Regions from separate parts of the Homo sapiens genome. Here region 2 is linked to region 1. Evidence: promoter capture Hi-C in human tissues and cell types (Jung and others, 2019). All regions are on one chromosome and are shown on one strand. Each heading gives the region's core, a stretch centred on a gene start or on the middle of the fragment in contact. The rest is flanking DNA. Distances are from core to core; before and after follow the strand shown. Region 1 holds the start of MYO10 (myosin X). Region 2 has its middle 420 kb from the start of LINC02100.

Evidence for each region. The method cuts DNA at HindIII sites, captures the fragments that hold promoters and counts their contacts. A contact is called where the count stands out against the background at its distance.
Region 2: a contact is called between a fragment that was not itself captured here and the fragment with the promoter of MYO10 in region 1, in 2 of the 25 tissues and cell types used here (dorsolateral prefrontal cortex and spleen).

The regions. Positions count from the first base shown.
Region 1 is chr5:16,933,210-16,940,186 of GRCh38, forward strand. MYO10 (myosin X) reads right to left here and starts at 3,079. Exons shown (of 41, transcript NM_012334.3): 1 at 2,579-3,079. The coding sequence starts at 2,599. The HindIII fragment of the contact is 7,585 bases long and covers 1-4,236 here.
Region 2 is chr5:18,324,972-18,331,948 of GRCh38, forward strand. No RefSeq gene overlaps it. Among named protein-coding and RNA genes, the nearest start is that of LINC02100, 420 kb to the right of the region's middle. The HindIII fragment of the contact is 4,958 bases long and covers 1,896-6,853 here.

The DNA of each region.
Region 1 (6,977 bases), core at 1,829-4,328:
CCTTTCGGGTTGTCACAACTTGGGGGATAGGGTTAACAATTACTGAGTAGAGTCCAGGGATGCGTTTAACCTCCTACAACACACAGGACGGCCTCCAACAACAAAGAATTACTCAGCAATGGTACCAGGTTTGAGAAACCCTGGTCTAGCTAGAAATAGCAGTTGCGAATCACAAGCAGCTCCCATTTCCTTATTATTTGGCCATTCATACACAAAGCTAAACAGGCAACATCTCATTCAGTAATTTTTCCCCAATTGTTAGCACTGGCTTTAAACTGTTGTCCAACAAGCAACAAGTCATTTACCCCTAAGCCACAATGGGAAAAGTTAGCAAAGACAGAATTCTACTTAGTGATAAGGAGGCCAAACAATTTAGCTGTCCTTGGGGAATATATCACTTCCACACTCGCTGTTTCTATTCTAACAGGACATTAATTACAGCATTTTCTTCACTGGACAATTTAACAAAAGGATGCTCCATTACAAGACATGAGAGAGAGAAAGGGGAGCTGGGATCTATGTTAAGAGTATGTCTACAATTAATACCTCACTATTTAACCTCTCTGACTGGCCCTGCTTCCTTCCCACTCAAAGTGATTAGATTTAAGGGTGGAACTTTCACGGCTGATTAGAAGTTAATATTGTAATACACATACATCACAAGATTAAAAGTATAACCTTAAAATAAGCGAAAAGTTCCCAGAAATACCAAAGTCACCAGCAGCAAAGGAAAAAGGCTCTGGATTCGTGAACAAGCTCTTCAAAGCTGGGCAAGGGACTTACTCATATCTTTGGGTTAAGATTCTGTCTACAAAATGAAGAGGAGAAAGTAGAAGATCACTAATGGCCAACTGCAAAATAATATTGATCACAGAAATAAAATCCAACAACCAGGCCCCTTACACTGAACTAAGGTATCCAGTGCAAGATGAAAAGAGTACTTTGAAAAGTCAAAGTCTCACCGGGTAACAGGAGATCAGGACGCTGTAGCGCGTTATCCTGATGTTCCCCCCACTTGCACTAGGGGGCAGAGTTCTCCCCAAGGGGGAGCCACGGACCCCTGTGGTGCTCAGACAGGCTACAGGAGGAGTGAGATCCGTGCAAACTGAATACAAATTTCTATATTTTCATCAGATTTTCTAAGGGACCCAGAACACAAAAACAACAAAGTTAAGAATCATTGCCCTAGGGGCAGGGCCTCCGTTTTCTTACAGATGCAAGCAATTAAACACCGGAACTCACTGTAGCCCGAGGGTCCTTTACCACTGGACAACGTGCAACTCTTGCAGAAAGTTCTGGTGCCTTTCGACAAGCATGAAAACAAAAGTCTATGGACTAGAAAATGCGAGCGTCTCACAATTATATATATTTCACTTTTTTTAAGAAAAGGAAAAATATGTATTGATGGATAATTCCTTTCTAGTCTTCCTTCCACAATGAATGTGGGTATCACATCTGAAACACCACTTTTAAAAACTAGATATGACTACTAAACAAGAATGCATTTATCACTTTGGCCAGTATGAATAGCTGTCTGAGAATACAGTCAGTGAGCATGCAGAAAGCAGAATGACTTGAAATATTATATCCAATTAAATCAGATAAACCAAGTCGGCTAACACAGAGGCAAGCCCTCATCAATCTGATTTGCTGGAAGACTCCAAAGCGGTTCTGCACTCAGAAAACATTCCCTGGCTTTCAACGAAAATCACATCAGACTCTCTCAAGTCAACTAAGTTTACTTTGAGCCACTTCAAACCTCAAACTTAAACAGAATTTATTAAATAAACACAACCAAGAAAGGAAAGGGAGCCAAGAAACCACAGTAAGTCTCGATCCCAAAGGGGGAAAAAGGGTTCTCAAGTTAAGTTTCAGTGTCCCACCCTCAACGACCCTAAAGAGGGCATCCGTTTCATCTATTAAAATAGCCACTGTTTGCCCTAAACGAATTTTCTTTACATTCGAATTCAAAATCTGCATGGACACTCTACACAAATACATGATCATTTGATCCCAGGGTCTGGAGTTATCCCAAGCCTTAAAAGAGCACTTCTCGGCGAGCAAAGTAACCGATTAAACCCTTGCCTCTCCTTCTCACACTTCATTAAGCCGTCTCCTCTGGAAGTGTTTGAACCCCTGCACAGGAAGCCCGCACGTTTTGCAAAGGAAATACCAGACAAGACCTTTCTTGGAGAAAGGCAGGTCCCCGCTGAACATTTTATTGGGCTTCCTGCACCCGGGCAGTCGAGCGGGCGGATCGCCCCGCCCGCGCCCCGGCGCGCGCCGCCTCACCTGGCGCGGGTGTCCCAGGGCGCCCCGAGAGCCAGCCACCCACGCAAACGGAAACGCACCTTCGCTACCTCCCGGAGCAAAATGCGAGCGCGGGACAGGACGAAACAAAACCTGCCCGGGCTTACTCATCAGAGACTCCGCGGGGGGATGGGGGGTGATTTCAGGAGACTCCCAGAAAGTTGCGCCTTCCAGGGCTTAGGAAAAAGTACCCAGGGCGCGCGGCGTGGTGGGCAGACGCCTCTCTCCCTGGGCTCCGGAGGCCAGGTCGGACTGGGAGCGCACTTACCTCGGTGAAGAAGTTATCCATTGTTCCAGCGCAGTCCCGGACTCGCCGAGTGCCGCTCCGACTCGCGGAAGTCAGCGCCGCCGCGGGTCCGGGGAAACCATGCGTGTCACGGCGCCACTCCCGAGGACGCGCGCCCGCGGGGCTCCCCTGCTGCCATCGCCCGGTCCCTTCTTGTCCTTCTCACCTTTTGTTCGCCCAAACCCAAGTCCCTAACTCGCCCGTCCCGACGGCAGCCTTTGTCTCTTCTTCCTCCAAGTTCCTCACTACTGGGCGCAGCGCTCGCAAGCGGAGAACAGCTGGTGGCACATTCTTCCCCCAGGCGGGGGAAGGCGGCGGGGTGCTGGCGAGCGCGGCCCCCTCCCTCTGCGCTCCGGCCGGGGGCCCTCGGGGCGGGCAGGAGGACAGCGGGCCGCAAAGTGAGCAGGAGCCGCGATCCCCGCGCGAGCGCTTGGAGGTGAGCAGTCCCGCGCCGCGGCTCAGCCAGCTCTCGCCCGCGGGACTACAGCCCAGCGACCTCGCCCCGCCCTCCCGCAGCCGGCCCCGCCCTCCCGCAGCCGGCCCCGCCCTCCCGCTCGCGGCCCCGCCCCCAGGAGCTTGGCCCTCCGCCAACCACACCGTCTGGCCCCGCCCGGGCGGAGCGCCCCGCCCCCTTCCCGACCAGGCCCCGCCCACTCTAAGCCCGAAGCAGCCGCAGGCTCGTTAGCGGACCCGGGAGGGGGCCGCGTGTTTCCCCAGGTCTTCCCACGTAGGCGTGGGGAGGGGATTTAACTCTTCCCTCTGCAGAGAGAGACTAAACAATCACTTAGAGGGGAGGAGAAGGGACTGGGGGCTTCTGTGCCTTTCATGTTTAGCAGACCCGGGAACCGGCTCAACACGGATCTCATTAATGCAGCCCGGTAGACTAGCAATCTCGGGAAGGAAGCGCGGTCAGCGGAGCTGCCGGGGCTGCGGGGCCAGATCAAAGCGGAAGACGGAGGCTAATCAGAATTTCTGGAAGCTGCATTCCCGTGTTGACTTTCTGTCCTGCAGTCGGGTTTGCTTAAGACGTTTGCGTAACAGCGGGGAAATGTAGTTTTGAAACTGGAAGGGGACGTGGCCAATATCACCTTTAAAAATGTAACCCTTTTCTAGACCTCAAGGAAGCAGAGATGGCAGATGGCACTGAGATGGACGAATGATCAAACCCACCTGGCACTGAGTCCCGTTTCCCCTAGGGCAGTTCTTTTAACTTTATGCTGTGCGAGGGTCACCTGGGAACCTTGTTAGAACGCAGGCTGGAACAATCTGCTTTCCAGGTGCCCCTCAGGTGCTACCTGGTCCTGTGCTGAACGAAAGCTTGTAACAAGTAGAGAAATTAAGAGTAAACGTTTGTAGCAATTTAATAATGCCACGACATCCAAGCACATGATCAGTGGACTCTTTGAACCGAGTATAAACCAGTTTGGGTGTTGTCAGACTCACGTGGTGAGTCACACCTGGCGCCGCAGTGTATTGGTACCTGGCCGACTGGGAACAAAAATGGCTGGTTCTTCAGCACAAAAGATTTGAGATGCTCTCTCCAGGGAATTTGCCAACTGCTACTCAACCTTTAAAACTCAGCTCACAAAGTCACACCTTCCAGGGGAAGGAACCCTTCCCAAAGATGCTACTCCACTCACCCCACCCAAGCTCCCCGTAACCACTGGGCTAGATGCCCACTCTAGGATTTATTCCTAAGACTGTTGGGGAAGGACTGTGCTTTAAGATGAGTATCCCCAGGCTGTCTCACAGCATGAATGAATGAATGAAACATCCTTCTGTAATCCTTATGGGGAAAGTCAAGCATGTTTGTAACTTATCCCAGTCCAGTTCTTCACCATTAATATCATTGCTCCCACCTCACTTCCCTTTAGAAAGAGTCAAGGTGTAAATTAGTTAATGATATTGTGCAATGTTGTTCTGTTTCACAGGTTTACACGCTTAAGGCGCTGAGCCATTAAAGCTTGTGTCCAAGGTCGCAAGGAAAGTGAAGATGGAGTCAGGATAAATACCAACAATCCCAGTGCTTAGTCAAATGGGTCCTGCAACCACTGGTGTTCAGATACTGGAGCAGAACAATTACAGTCATTATGGTATTAATCTGCACACAACATCTCTGCCAGAGAAATTACCAGGGAGATTGTTGAAGTGAGTGTGTGGGTGTGACGTGGTTCCCAGCATCAGCCCAGCCACTGATACGTTGGGCAACCTCGCCATGTCATTTCAAAAGTCACTTTCCATATCGGCTCATCAGTTATAACAAATGTACCACACTAATGCAACATGTTAATAATAGGGGCAAGTGAGGGTGAGGGGCTGGGAGGGGTCTATGGACACTCTCTGTACTTTCTGGCCAATTTTTATGTAAGCCTAAAACTGTTTTTTTAAAGTCTACTAATCTTTTAAAGGTGATTTTCCTGCCAATTATGAAGATATCGTTAATAATTGCCCCCAATTTGACTCACGTAAAGAATGGTGAGCCAGATCCAATATATAAAGTTTAGATTTTACTGAATCATTTTATTTCTTCAAAAAGCTTACATCATCAGTTAACAGGGTAAGAAAGTTAAAAAAAAAAACTTACATCAATGTTTTATCAATGTTGATCCCTAGATCACCTTATCAGTTGCTAAAAAGAAAAAAAAACTGACTCCAAATCTCTGTGGCAAATTGATTTCCTAAGAATTTGCATTTTTTATTTCTTTACCTGTGGATTATATTGAAAGAATTTGCATTTTAATAAGCACCCCGATAACCAGTTCAGAGCTTGGGAATCGCCACTTTATCAGAATTCATCAGCTTTTCTATATATCCCCATATTCTCAAAAAGGTGTAAGATAAGCTGTGGCAGCGAAACTCTTACTTGCTGAACAGCAAAATGCATGTTCTAAATAAGATATCTAACCCTCAAGTATCTGGGGTTGAATCAGTTGTTAAAAAGCAGCGTGTTAAATTTATAAGGGCTTTGACAGGATTGGACAGAGACTGGGAAGCATTTTAAATCAATAGATTTCTAAGAATATCTAGTCTTATTACCATTTCTTAAAATTTGAGTGCTTCCTCTGAGAGAGTTGTGCTAACCACTGGACAAAGCAGTTTAGACCAAATCTATTAAACCCTGCCCTCTGAGAAGCGACAGAGGCACAAGAATGGTAATAATAGAAGGATGAGTGTGTTTCCATGAGGCAAAGGTCTGTCTCAACTCTCTGTCCTACCTGTCTTTCAAATAAACCAGGCTAACAGAGTATGACATTTTCAAAATAAAACACCCCCAAAAGCTCAAGTTAAGTTATCTTATTTAGTGGCATACATTAATCTACAATCAACAAAATTTTAATACTGATTGGATCATTTCCCCACTGAAAGAGAGAGTTGCATATGTATATTTGTGAGTTAAGTAATAACAATCTTCTGTTTTTGTTCTCCACCAACAGTTTGTTCGTTTTTAGTTGAAACGGGTTGTCTCATTTCCTTTGTGAATTCAAACTGAGTTCCTTTTGTTGTTGCTGCTGCTGCCATTCCTTGTCTTGATGTGTCTTGGGGCGTAGAGTCTTTTCCATTATCTTTTTTTTTTATTAAACACTCACCCCTTAATTGCCCCTGTTAGAATAATGGCTTAATTACTAGTTATAGAAAGGGAAAGTTCTCAAAGTTTCTTTCACACAAATTAGAAGTTAATAACTGACAATTCTAAAGTCCTTTCATGCTTAACTAAACAGCAGTCCATCCTTTGGGCTCACTTACCCTCTTGGATGTTTAAAACATCAAATGTTTTTACCTTCTCAAACAAAAGGGAATTTTTTTAATGTGATTTAAATTTTTACACAAGTGTTTCTTTTATTTCTCATACCTTAGCATTCAGAAATCCTCAAGGGAATTTTTTTCTGCTGAAACTGAAAACAATTGTAGGTGGTTTCAATAGAATAAATTTGGGAGAAAATACCTGAAATGTTTCACATTGTAATAGAAGTAAGTACAGAAGAATAAACATAGAACTAAAATGGGGAGAAGACACTGGAAGAACTCATTTCTGCCAGCGGTTGTATTTCTCTACAAGATGAGCTAGGGCAAGGATGTCATTCACCTCATTAGAGAGCATGTGATGGACAGTTAATTCTAACTAAATCCCCATCACTTCAAACTACAGCAAGAATGCCTCCTACAGCTGATAGCCTACAAAAATCATGGAGTGTTAGTTTCACAAATTAATCAGTTTTCATGTTTGGGGCTGGTCCTGTTGCGTATAATAAAGAAAAAGTACAAAAATCCCTGAAACCCTGAAAAGCTGCCTAATGATTAAGCCCGCTCGGAGCTATGTTTGACATCTCGCTTTCTCTCTTGATGTTTTTGTGTCTTTATGACCCTCTCTCTTCCATTACTC
Region 2 (6,977 bases), core at 3,125-5,624, 1.4 Mb after region 1:
CCATTTTGTTCTCGTGATAGTGAGTTCTCATGGGATATAATGGTTTTATAAGGGGCTTCTCTCTTTGCTCAGCACTCATTTCTCTCTCCTGCCATGATGTGAAGAAGGACATGTTTGCTTCCCTTTCTGCCATGATTGTAAGTTTCCAGAGCCCTCCCTAGTCCTACAGAACTGTGAGTCAATTAAGCCTGTTTCCTTTATAAATTACCCAATGTATTAGTTCGTTTTCACACTGCTGATCAAGACATACCCAAGGCTGGGTAATTTATAAAGAAAACCAGGTTTACTGGACTCACAGTTGCATGTGGCTGGGGAAACTGGTAGAAGGTGAAAGCCGTGTCTTACATGGTAGCAAGCAAGAGAGAATGAGAACCAAGTGAAAGGGGAAACCCCTTATAAAACCATCAGATTTTTGTGAGACTTATTCACTACCACAAAAAAAATGTATGGAGGAAACCGCCCCCATGATTCAATTATCTCCCACTGGGTCTCTCCCACACGTGGGAATTATGGGAGTACAATTCAAGATGATATTTGGGTGGGGACACAGCCAAACCATATCACCCAGTCTCGGGCAGTTCTTTATAGCAGCATGAGAACAGACTAATACAACAACTGCCAGTTTCCAGGGAGAGATTGCCCAGAGGCAAGCTTGCAAAATGCATACTTATTATTCCTGGATTTCTACATTTTTTCTTACCCAGATACAAAATAGGAGATAAGTTTGAAGGAAGCCTGAAGATTCTCTTCATTTCTTTCCTTGGGTGTTCTTATATCTCTGCTTTGGGTAACACTCTGAGCCCTTTAATGTCACTAAAGCGAAAGGTTAGTTTTAGGCAAGAGCTGCCCCTGGTCAAAATAAAGTAAAATCAAAGATGAAAATAAAACTTAGGTACCATAAAATCTCAAATGGCATAATCCGTAGCCAAAGAATTATCTTGTAACTTAAGATTCCCAGTCCTGTGACTCAATGTTGTAATGAAGGTAAAATGGATGATGTAGTTTTATTCATAGTTTCATGAGGGGTATTTTAATTTACACTTCAAACATTTTTCTATTGTGTATAGACAGAGTTATTGGCAGTTTTATTGGTACTCTTTCGTCCTCATTGTCTGACCTTAATAGCTCCAAAGACCTGACAGATGACAGATGAGACAGGTTTGATCATATCGCACCTAATGTCACTTGATGTTAAGAAACTAAATGAATTCCAGAGATAGGTCACTGAATTTTGCAGTCTGAGATATTAGTTTGTTGAGCAATTAGGCCCTGTGCTCAATCACACCTATGGGGCTTTTTCAAATTTCAGAGATTTCTTTCTCCTCCACTTCCCCATGCTTTTTTTCCTAGGAGGGTTGCTGACCACCTTTGAATCTTTCCAGGGCTGTGATACATTTATGAAAAACATACAAACCCGCGGGGACATTAGAGTGAGAAGAGTGAGCCCCTGAGCTCTATTGTCAAGTTCAGAGTCCTGTTCTAGTCATCTAGTTCTCTGATCACTAAGCCACTATCAGTAATATTTGATTTGTAAAAGTTGGAAGACATGTCAGAAAGTTGTAAAAACGGTTTCATCATTTTTGGACAAAATTTCTAAGCAAGTTAATAAATAAATTATTTCTAAGTATTGCAATACTAACCAAGAGAAAAATGATCACTGGGAGCTAACATGAGTTCACTAAGCATAAGATTGGCCAAATTCAAGTTATTACCTGAGTTACGTAACCAAGCAGGTGCATGAAGTAAATGTTAAGAATATACATGCATGTCACATTTTCAAAATGTATAGAGTAGGGAACATTGGAAAAATTTAAGCTGAATGATGATACCAATCAGAAAGATTTGCATCTCAAGGAAAGCCTTTTTTAATTTCTAAAAACATCATTCTTTTTGTCTAAGTTATTAGTTATCAGTTAGGTATATGGATGGTCAATGGATAAATAAATTGTGAAATATAGGAGAAGATGTCATAGGAGTACAAACAGAAGCATTTTACCCAAAGTAAGAATGGAAATAGTTGACATTTATAAGAGTAGTTTCATCAGCTGATTACTGAATTATCAAAACAACAATACCTACAGAATGGAACATTTTCCAATTATTGCTATGTCATTAAATCTGACCAGAGGACTTAGAAAACAATGATGCCTAGACATAAGAATCCCTTTATTCAGCTTTGGTCGCAAATAACCTCCATGATATTGAATTGCAAGAGCCACGGTTAGTAATGGACACTGCCGACTTCTGGATCACAACATTGTTTTTATTCTGTTTCTAGACACTTGCGATGTAGTCCTATATTTTAAATAAACAAGCACATTTTTTAAAAATGATTTTTTAATTCACACATAAAATTTGTATATATTAATAGTGTACATGTTTCAAAATATGTATATATTGTGGAATGGTGAAATCTAACACAAACTTTACCTCACATATTTGTTTTTGTGTGTGTGGTCAGAACAATCAAGAGCTACACTCCTAGCAAATTTCAATACAATCCACTGTTATTAACTATAATCGCCATGTTATTCATTGGATCCCTTGGACTTATTCCTCCTAACTGAATTTTTTTATCCTTTGACCAATACCGCCCTCCACCCCATGACCCCAGACCTGGAAACAACTATTCTACTTTCTGCTTCTATGGGTGCAACTTTTTTAGATTCCTTTAAGTCAGATACATTGAAAGAAAGAGTAAATTACCAGGGGCAGCAATGGGAAGGAAAAAGGAAGTACATCAAAGAGTACATGAGGGCTATAGTTATTAATATTGTATTGTATTTTGAAAATTTGCAGAAAGAATAGATGTTAAGTGCTCTTACTACACACAGACACACACACACACACACACACACAAAGGTAAATATAAAAGGTGATGAATAGGTTAATTTGCTTGACTGTAGTAATTATTTTTTCTTCATATGTATATCAGAACATCATGTTGTACAGCTTAAATATATATAGTAAAAAGAAGTGCATTTTTGTCTGATATATGGGATCAAGAATGCATTTATTAAGTACATTATAAGGATGAAAATACTTAAAACTAATCTTGAAAGCTATTCTTAGCTGAAATGTATTAATCTTTCCATAGTTTTCATGAGGATATGTTCATTATAGCTTTTCACTATGTCAAGCTTATTTTATATAATTCTGACTGTGGTGTTTCTTCTCCAGTGGCATATTTATTTATTCTCTTGTTAAAACAATTAAGTATTAAAATTGGTTCTTTGTTACAATTTTATTTCCTCATTTTGTCATTATGTTTAAACTAAACTTTAGTTCATAATAAAAGTTTTCTTTTTTTCCTTTCTCTTGGGGCCTGAATTATTTTCTTTATTTCTTCTTCATTTGCAACTTTTGCTTTCCCATTCCCTGGAAATACAAAACAAAATTTTTAAAGTTATTTGTGTAAAAATGTATTTTTGTCTTACGTGTGTGGGCCAAATTGCATGGTTTTCTTGTCCAAATCATTCGGTTATCTGTTCTACTGAATATAAGTTTCTACATGGCAACCTTCAGTAGAATAATTTTTTTTCAGTACATACTCATTGGTTTATCCAAAAGCACTTTGTATGCTCTTTATTATTTCCTATGCTTATGATTTATTAAATAAATCAGATAGTAATCACATTTAGAGAAAGAATACTTTAAAAAATTACTTTACACAGTTCTTTGCACATTATTTTGTACAAAGAAGGGTATTAATTTAACTCTATAATAATCATATTATTATGTAAGTAACATTTTATATCCAAGTATCTCTTAAAAGCCAAGAATTTATATGGAATTTAATAAATTCTATTAATGATAGTAATAAAATTGGTTGTGATAGAGAACTGTAACAAACCAAAAATAAAAATTGAGAAAAAGGTACTAAAATAAATTCTTCCTCAAGAATCAGCATATGTAATGCAGAGAAATGAAAAATTGGTTTCCCATTATATAAGATGATTGTTAGATTTTTATTTATGTTTCTCCTTTTAAAAACACTTTTTCTCCCTTAAATTATTATTCAAATTTGATTTTTATCTTGAAAATAGGTGTGTGGAGGAGGAGAGGTGTTAATCCAACTAAGGAAATTTCTTTATATAATTATATATTCTGGTGGAAAAGTTTATCTAAAGTTTATCCTTTATTTAAATCCCAGCTTAAGTAAAAGGGTCATTTCTGTAGCTCCTGAGAATATATTTAATACACATTTTGTAAAGCCAAAAAAATCTTGCTTAAATTTTTTCTCCATCTTATATTTTCTTCTCTTTTCTGTCTAGATTAATGTTTACCAAGATAAATCTTGTATTTCCTGTAGAAGGACAGATAACCTGTAACTTATCTGGACATGAAGGTCTATGATAAGACAATTGGATATGGTACCTTCTGCATCCCTCCTGCCCCTTCCAGGACCTGTTCACATTGACATCTTGGGACATATTCACTACTCAGTTGACTCCAGAAATAACACACATTGCCTGTGCATGAGGTGCATGACTTTGCTTTTTCCAAGAGTCCTGCATTTCCATGGAAACCAGAGAGGCAGAAAACAAAGGATAAGTACAAAACATCTCTGAGCTTTTAGAAACAAAGCTGAATCCAGACCAACTGCCTCATCTGAATTCAGCCTGTGAAAACCATAAACCACTCTGACCTCTTACTGCTGAAGGAAGACATGCTCCCTGCTGGCATCCTTCCATGAGAAACACATCTCTTTCTCACATTGGACATATTTTAAAGGCAAGAAAGGCAGGATTTGAGATTTAAAAGTCTAGATTTTTTTCTCTTCTGCCACTCTTTGGTGACGTGAAGTTACCATTTCCATTCTATAAAATGCAAAATTACAAAAGGTTTTAGAATTGCTTCTCATTTGAAAGGAATGTTGAAGGTTATTTAAATACTAAAGTTTAATCAACAGTGGTTTGAAATCCTTAGGAAATACTATGCTAAACAAAATATCCTTGCTCATGGTAGCTTAATCAAACAGCAGATATTTGTCAAATGTAAGGCTTGTTATAGGCAGGTTGGAATATCTTCTATTAGGAAGCTCTATTCTATTCTATCTTCTATAACTGTAGTTCCAGGGGAAAAAATTCTGTGCATGTCTCAGTAATCAGAACTTCAAAGAGGAGTATGCAATTTTAATTTAACTGATGTGAAAAACACTATTAAAACTATGTACATAATCTGTTGTGAAATTTAAGTTGGTTCTATTTGTTAAAAGAGAAAGCCACACAACCAGTTCTTATTAAGATAAAATATAAAAATCTAGGTTTGTGCTAAGTAGCTATAACTGTGCTCCTCTTCCCATCTGAACCCTGAGTCCCACTCTCTAACATTTTAGTCGCTTCCCCTTGTTGTTAAGAGGAATGTTGCTTGGATAATCTGTGTACTCTGGCATCCAAAAAAAGTGAATACAGATGTAGACTGAGTTTAGGTTTAATTTCTTTAGCCATATCTGATGATAGAGTTGAAAGATTCGCTGATACTCTATCAAGTGTATAAAACTGTGTGTGTGCAAGAATGAACTATTCTTTTGGGGGGTGGAATAAGAAATGGGTGTACCAGAGATAGTTTGCCACCACAGAATTTGGATATTAAAGCTATTGAGTAACTATTGCTAATATATGGCATAAAGAAACTCAACCAAAGAAAAGAGAAAGTCAAATAATACATGTACCCCAAAGAATAATAGGTAAGTTAAGTAGATCATGGTATGTTCTACTCAATTGGAACTTCCCCTAGTTCTCCTCAACTCATAGATGATTCTAACATATTATATGTTGTAATAAAGAATGACAAATATAAGAAATGGCATCAAATAATAAAGCTTAAGAAATGAAAGATGAGTCCTGAGAAGAGGTGCCATAAGTTGTAGTGGAAAGTATTTTCTCTAAACCATTATGATGACTATTGTAGTACGTTAAAGAGCAGAACCAAAGACAAGCCTCATACAGGACATTTCAGAAATCATCACTGTGATTAAAAAAATGCATGTTATTGTTAAATTGTATTTTACTTTTATGGTAAGTTCCAGGGTACATGTGCAGGATGTGCAGGTTTATTACATAGGTAAATGTGTGCCATGGTGGTTTGCTGTACCTGTCAAACCATCACCTAGGTATTAAGCCCAACATGCATTAGCTATTTTTTCTAATGCTCTCCCTCCACACCCCCTCCACAGACCCCAGTGTGTGTTGTTCCCCTTTCTGTGTCCATGTGTTTACATTGTTCAGCTCCCACTTATAGGTGAGAACACGCAGTGTTTGGTTTTCTGTTCCTGTGTTAGTTTGCTGAGGATAATAGCTTCTAGGTCCATTCATGTCCCTGCAAAGGACATGATCTCATTATTTTTTTTATGGCTGCATAATACTTCATGGTGTATATATACCACATTTTCTTTATCCAATGTATCATTGATGGGTATTTGGGTTGATTCCATGTCTTTGCTATTGTAAATAGTGCTGCAGTGAACACAGATGTGTGTGTATCTTTATAATAGAATGATTTATATTCCCTTGGGTATATACTCAGTAATAAGATTGCTGGGTCAAATGGTATTCCAGTTCTAAATCTTTAAGGAATCTCCACAATGTCTTCCACAGTCATTTTTACACTAACAATGTAAAAGAATTCCTCTTTCTCTGCAACCTCACCAGCATCTGTTGTTTCTTGACTTTTTAATAATTGCTATTCTGACAGGTGCAAGATGGTATCTCACCGTGATTTTGATTTGCATTCCTCTAATGATCAGTGATGTTGAGCTTTTTTTCATATGTTTTTTGGCTGCATTAATGTCTTCTCTTTAGAAGTGTTTGTTGGTGTTCTTTGCCCACTTTTTAATGGGGTGGTTTTTTCCTTATAAATTTGTTTAAGTTCCTGTGTATTCTGGATATTAGACTTTGTCAGATGAATAGATGGCAAAATTTTTCTCTCACTCTGTAGGTTGTCTGTTAACTCTGATGATAGTTTCTTTTGCTGTG